Linked DNA regions of Homo sapiens: region 2 is linked to region 1. The links are contacts of gene promoters, found by promoter capture Hi-C in human tissues and cell types (Jung and others, 2019). All regions are on one chromosome and are shown on one strand. Each heading gives the region's core, a stretch centred on a gene start or on the middle of the fragment in contact. The rest is flanking DNA. Distances are from core to core; before and after follow the strand shown. Region 1 holds the start of LRRC73 (leucine rich repeat containing 73). Region 2 overlaps RRP36 (ribosomal RNA processing 36).

The links. The method cuts DNA at HindIII sites, captures the fragments that hold promoters and counts their contacts. A contact is called where the count stands out against the background at its distance.
Region 2: a fragment that was not itself captured here is called in contact with the fragment with the promoter of LRRC73 in region 1 in 1 of the 25 tissues and cell types used here (spleen).

The regions. Positions count from the first base shown.
Region 1 is chr6:43,508,735-43,512,126 of GRCh38, forward strand. It overlaps LRRC73 (leucine rich repeat containing 73), which reads right to left and starts at 1,612. Exons shown (of 6, transcript NM_001012974.4): 1 at 780-1,612; 2 at 26-186. The coding sequence starts at 1,051. It overlaps YIPF3 (Yip1 domain family member 3), which reads right to left. Exons shown (of 9, transcript NM_015388.4): 9 at 3,098-3,392. RefSeq lists silencers at 1,190-1,459, 1,480-1,769. The HindIII fragment of the contact is 5,504 bases long and covers 1-2,298 here.
Region 2 is chr6:43,029,398-43,032,789 of GRCh38, forward strand. RRP36 (ribosomal RNA processing 36) reads left to right here. Exons shown (of 7, transcript NM_033112.4): 7 at 1-202. Among named protein-coding and RNA genes, the nearest start is that of RRP36, 9.5 kb to the left of the region's middle. The HindIII fragment of the contact is 7,304 bases long and covers 1-3,392 here.

The sequences.
Region 1 (3,392 bases), core at 362-2,861:
AAGCCCTCAACAGGGTCCTGCTCACCAGATTTGGCCCCATCTGGGGGCAGGAGGCCACAGATGAGGTTGATGGCTTCATCACCCAGCATGCAGTCCCCCAGGTCCAGAGCCACGAGGGCAGGGTGGAGGGCCAGGGCTGGGTTCAGCAAGGCCAGCCCCGCATCTGTCAGGGGGCTCCCATGCAGGCTGGAGGAGAGTGAGAGAGCAGGGTTACTGCAGTCCTCCGCACTATCTACATGGGAAAGGGGCACTTTCACTTCTGTCAGCCCTAGGTATGGGGAGGGCAGTCACAGCGCTTGAGAGGCCTGGAAAAGGAGAAGGAAAGTTCTAGATTCTCAGGGAATACAGATAGAGGGAGAATTCGGTTTGTTTTCTGGGGCAGGGATCCAGGACATTGCACAGGGAGGGGCAGAGAAGGGGTGGGTGGGTGGTGGACCGGAACTCTGCAGTGGGCAGGGCTCTCGTCCCCACGGGGATATTCCCCCTTGGGAACCAAGGAGCTGCCCCAGTGAAGTAAATGCAGATGATTAGGTGGGGAGGTACGGCCCCCACCTCATGTCAGGAACTGGTGGGTATCCCAACACGGCTAGGGTCGCGCGTGCAAAGTCCAAGCATGTGCTTGGAGGGTGCTGTGAAGGCATGGGCCGAGGCACGGTGTATGTGCATAAGGCATGTGAAGGTAGGATGGTACTGGAAGGAGTGTGGAGGAACAGGAGGTGCCAGGGGAGTGTATGGAAGGGTGCAGTGCCCGGGACCCCCTTGCGAGGGGGCGCACTCACAAGAGGGACTGGATGGAGCGGTTGGTCCGCAGAGCCTCAGCCAGCTGCTTGATGCGGCTGGGGCTGGACACGACGCCCAGGTTAAGGTTGAGCTGCGCCAGGGACGTGGCCCCGGCCAGGGCCCGGCAGATGCGGCCAAAGTCGCGGTCGCAGAGGCGGCAGCCGCGCAGTGAGAGCAGGCGCACGGCGTTGTCGCGAAGGCCGCGGCAGATGTCCCGCACCTCGGCGCCGGACAGCGGCTCCCCCGAAATCTGGATGGAGCTGGGCAGCATCGTGCCCACGGCTGGGCCTCCGGGTACGGGGCCGGAACGGAGGTTGGTGGGGCCGCGGGCGGGGCCGGGGATAGGGCCGGGGTCGGGGCCCCGGCAGGGGTCGCGGGCGGAGTGGGGCCGGGGGTGGAGGCGGCGGCTGTGGCGGAGGCTGCGGCTGCGGCGGAGGCTGCGGCGGGGGCGGAGAAGAGCTACCGGGACTGAGCCGGAGCCGGCCAGAGGTGCGGAGGCGTCCAGGGCGCGGGCCGGGCTGAAGTGGGGCGGCGCTGGGGCGGGGGCGGCCCGCACGGTCCGTGTCTGGGCGTTGGGGCGGGTGCGCGTTCCGGGGGTTGGGCAGGCGCTGCTCGGCGCTTGTCCTTGTCCCTCGCGGTCGCGGCGGCGGCGGCGGCAGCGGCAGCGAGCGGCTCAAGGGCTTCGGCTTACCGGTCTCGGCTAGGAGGCCGTACCCGCTCCCTCCTTCTCTGCCGCCCGGCTCCCCCCGACCACCCCGCGGGCCTGGCCGCACGGCTGGCAGAGAGAGCCTGAGGCGGGCGGCTGGCGGCAGCTCCGGCTCCAGCTCCAGAGAGCGAGCGGGCGGCGAGTTCCCATGGCAACGGCCGCGTCACCGGCGCTCGCCCCGCCCCCTGCCCGGCCAAGGCCACGCCGGCCCGCGAGGTTCGCGTACACTGGGTGGTTCGGGGCAAGGAGCTGGGAGCGATAGGCCGCTCTTCCCTTGGGAGTGGGGTCAGCCAACTGGCAGGCGGCAGGCGGCAGGGCTGAGTGGGTAGGGCTGACGGGGAGCGGAATGGAGGCACGCCCCGTGGAGATGGCGTTGGGCACGGTTACTGCTGCTTCTGCCCATTCTTCCATCCTTCCCCGTTCCTAAGGTCCATACCCCCGCCGGAATCCAGGGCACTGTTCCCTCCTATTTGGAAGGCCCCAGGGCCCTTTCATCCGCGCCGCGCCTCGCTCCCGCCCCCGTGACTCGAGGCGCAGCGTGCGTGGTGATCCCGGCCCATGGGGACTTCCCCGCTTGCTCCTCGCCAAGATGGCGGCCTCATCAGGGAGGCCCCAGGGGCCACGGCTGGGCAGAGCCAGCTTGAGCTGCTGGGGAGAAGGGTACCCCATAGGGTCCCTAGGGCAGGGGAGCCTCAGATAGATGCAAGGTCCTGGTGCCACACCTTCTCAGGTACGCAGGGCACTGTTGACATCTGAGGGTGTGTCCGTGCCGCGAGACTGGGGCAGCCAATACAAAGAAGGTGCCAGGGCCAGGGCCCTGGAGCACTGGTGAGGACGTGAAGGCGGCTGAGCCACACTGCACGGTGCAGGCGGTGCTGTCTCAACTTTGTCCTCTGGCCAGGGTGGTGGGGGACTCACTTGTGTAACGCAGGACAAATGAAGGGCACCTCTGTTTGTCCCTTTGTTAGGAGGGATAGATGCTGCTGACCCAGATTTACTAGTGTTAAGATGATTATTTTACATAAAATATAATATTCAATATAGTGAAGGGAGGTCAAAGGCCCTATTCCCACTCTTAGCCACCTGAATTAACTTATTAAGTGGAGCATATTAAAGAGGTGGTGGGGGTGGATGGTGCTATGTTAGGAGTGGTGGTTGGTTTTAAGAGGAAAGACAGAAAAACTAAAAGGAGCTGGCCCCAGTACCACCAAGGCAAAGCCAAATTTGGCTTCAATTAAGAGCTCCACAGGAAAATTATCAACACAATGCCCAGGTGCAGAAGATCCTTGTTTTGACACGGGGTTTAAGTCGGGATGTTTTGTTCAATTGTCACTGCTTCCTTGGCTTCCCAAGAGAGCAGCTGAGCCCAGACTCAAGCTGGCTGCAGTGTTCCATCAGGCTTATGGCTTTTGTGCTTGAGGCCTCCCTGCCGCTTCATGGGTCAGGTGTGATATTCAATCACTGCCTTCTATGTAGTCTGGCCTGTCCCACCTTTATCTTGCCTGGGTGAGGATATGAAGAAGGGAACATATGACATTACCACTGTTGACTGAGTAGGAAAGTATATAGGAAGCGGGATGACAGGGAGGACCACTGGATCAGCCGCTGCAGTTCCAGACTTCAATCAACATTTTAATTACCAAGTCTATATTTAGCAAGACAATGTGGGAGAGATAAAGAGGAAGGAAGGGGTAGGTGGGGAGGGGTTCTCAAAGGAGCTGACCCATTTTCTGCATTGGCTGCAGAGCCTTGCAGTCCTGGCCAGGAGTTCTTGGCCTTGTGCCTTTCAGAAGTGCCGACAGGCATCAAGGAGGTACTTACGCAGCTACAGCTCAGTGGCAGCTGCAAACCCCATCTACGAAACATGTCATCAGGACTGTCCTTTAATAGTCTTCCTCCTCTCTGC
Region 2 (3,392 bases), core at 631-3,130, 480 kb before region 1:
ATAGTTCAGCCTTCTGCCATGCCACACAGCCTCAGCTTGAATCTGGTTCATTGCGTCCTCGTGTTCTTCTCTCATCCTTGCCTTAAACCAGGGATTCTGATACCGAAGAAGAGGGGCCAATGAAAACCATGGAGTCTGTTCGTGACTCCCAGGGCTGGGACATTATGTAGGAGCCACTTCATAAACATTCTCTTTACTCATCTTTTTATTCTGTTTTTTGTGGCCTTCTTTTTGTGTTTCCCCCCCGAAACAGAGTCTCGCTCTGTCACCCAGGCTAGAGTACAGTGGTGCAATCTCGCCTCACTGCAACCTCCACCTCCCAGGTTCAAGTGATTCTTGTGCCTCAGCCTCCCGAGTAGCTGACATCCGCCACCAAGCCCAGCTAATTTCTTTCGTATTTTTAGTAGAGATAGAGTTTTGCCATGTTGGCTAGTTTGATCTTAAACTCTTGGCCTCAAGTGATCTGCCTGCCTCAGACTCCCAAAGTGCTGGGATTACAGGCGTTGAGCCACCGTTCCGGCCTTAAGGCCTCTGCTTTTATGTGGGATTTGTGGGTAGCCTAGAACTACTTTTTAGTGGGCCACATATTGGGATAGGCAATAAAGCCTAAGGCATCTACAACTGGGAAGTCAGATCAGAAACCCCTCCCACTTAAATCTGGGCCCCTCAAGGATGACAAGATCATTTAGTGGGTGAACCAATCCCACAACTCCCCTACTTGGCTTTGGTTTTGGATGCAAGGGATGTTAAGAGGTAGGGATATAAAGCTTCCATGGTAATATACAAGCACAGCTGGCCTTCAGTACTGTTTGGGACAAGAGTTTATAACCCATGTGGTCTGGAAAATCCTCAGGCTGATAACTTAGTTTAAAATAGTCTCAAGTAGGCTGGGCGTGGTGGCTCACACCTGTAATCCCACCACTTTGGGAGGCCGAGGCAGGCGGATCACCTGAGGTCAGGAGTTCAAGACCAGCCTGGCCAACATGGTGAAACCCCATCTCTACTAAAAATACAAAATTAGCTGGGTGTGGTGGTGGGTGCCTGTAATCCCAGCTACTCAGGAGGCTGAGGTAGGATAATCACTTGAGCCTGGGAGGTAGAGGTTGCAGTGAGCCAAGATCGCACCACTGCACTCCAGCCTGGGCAAAAAGAGTGAAATCACCACCGCGCCCCCCCCCCCAAAAAAAAATGGCCAGGCATGGTGGCTCACACCTGTAATCCCAGCACTTTGGGAGGCAGAGGCAGGTGGATCACGAGGTCAGGGGTTCGAGACCAGCCTGACCAACATGGTGAAACCCTGTCTCTACTAAAAATACAAAAATTAGCCGGGTGTGGTGGTGGGCGCCTGTAATCCCAGCTACTCAGGAGGCTGAAGCAGGAGAATTGCTTGAACGCGGGAGGCGGAGGTTGCAGTGAACCAAGATCGCGCCACTGCACTCCAGCCTGGGCGACAGAGCGAGACTCCGTCTCAAAAAAAAAAAAAGTCTCAAGTAGATAGTGTCTCCAGGGTCCTGGCAGAAGCAAATGTAATCCTTTCTTGAGGATTGTTTTTTTTTTGTTTGTTTTTTGTTTTTGAGATGGAGTCTCACTCTGTCGTCCAGACTGGCAAAAATTAAAATGTGAGAAGTATAAAATAAAAAATACAAAATGTCTTATGTTTAAAGAAAAAGTGTGACAAATGAATATCAAAAGGTACTAAACTGGTGTGATTAAAAAGTAAAACTTAAGGCCGGTCACGGTGGCTCACGCCTGTGTTCCCAGCACTTTGGGAGGCCAAAGCGGGTGGATCACGAGGTCAGGAGATGGAGACCATCCTGGCTAGTACAGTGAAACCCTATCTCTACTAAAAATACAAAAAATTAGCCAGGCGTGGTGGCGGGTGCCTGTAGTCCCAGCTACTCTGGAGGCTGAGGCAGGAGGATGGCATGAACCTGGGAGGCAGAGCTTGCAGTGAGCCGAGATCGTGCCACTGCACTCCAGCCTGGGGAACAGAGCGAGACTCCATCTCAAAAAAAAAAAAAAAAAAAGTAAAACTTAAAAAGAAAACCTTTTAAAAATGAAAAGTAGGGCCAGGCATGGTGGCTCGTGCCTGTAATCCCAGCACTTTGGGAGGCTGAGGTGGGTGGATCGCCTGAGGTTGGGAGTTCGAGACTAGCCTGGCCAACATGGTGAAACCCCGTCTCTACTAAAAATACAAAAAATTAGCCGGGCGTGGTGGCGCATGCCTGTAATCCTAGCTACTTGGGAGGCTGAGGCAGGAGAATTGCTTGAACCTAGGAGGCGGAGGTTGCGGTGAGCCAAGATTGCGCCACTGCACTCCAGCCTGGGCAACAAGAGTGATACTCCACCTCAGAAAAAAAAAAGTACACTACGAGAAGTTAGAAACTTTATGGTTAAGCAGCAGATTAGACTTCTCCCTAAAGGGAGAATGAACTGGAAATAGATCTGAAGTTACACAGAGAGAGCACTGACATACAGAGAAGTGGAAACTAAGGAAAAGAGGTTAAAAAACATGGAAGAGGCTGGGTGTAGTTGCTGACACCTGTAATCCCAACTTTTTGGGAGGCATAGAGAGGACTGCTTGAGGTCCTCAGTTGGGGACCAGCCTGGGCAACATAAGGAGACCTTGTCTCTAAAAAAAAATTAAAAAATCAGACATGTGGCACATGCCTATAGTCCCAGCTTCTCTGGAGGCTCAGGCTGGAGGATTGCTTGACCCCAGGAACTTGAGGTTGCAGTGAGCTATGATGGCATCACTGCACTCCAGCCTGGGTGACAGAGCAAGATCCTGTCTATAAAACAACAAAATGAAGATAAATGTGAGACTTGACAATCAAAATTTCAGGAAAGAATATTTCAAAGAGGCTGGGCATTTTCTAGAATTTTTTTTGAGATGGGGTCTCCCTCTGTCGCCCAAGCTGGAGTGCAGTGGCACGATCTTGGCTCACTGTAACCTCTTCCTCCCAGGTTAAAGCTATTCTTCTGCCTCAGCTCCCTGAGCAGCTGGTATTTCAGGTGTATGCCACCACACCTGGCTAATTTTTTTTTTTGTAGGGATGGGGTTTCACCGTGTTGGCCAGCTGGTCTCAAACTCCTGACCTCAAGTAATCCACCCACCTAGGCCTCCCAAAGTGATAGGTTTACAGGTGTGAGCCACCGCACCTGGCCTAGTTTTTTTTTTGTTTTTTTTGTTTTTTTTTTAAGGCTAGATAAATCATAAGCCAGGAACATTTGAAAGTCTATCCAGCCTGGGCAACATGGTGAAACTGCATCTCTACAAAGAATACTCAGGCGGCTGAGGCAGGAGGATCACTTGAGCCTGGGAGGTCGAGGCAGTGAGCCGTGATTGTGCCACCCGTACTCCAACCTGGGTGACAGAGCAAGACCCTTTC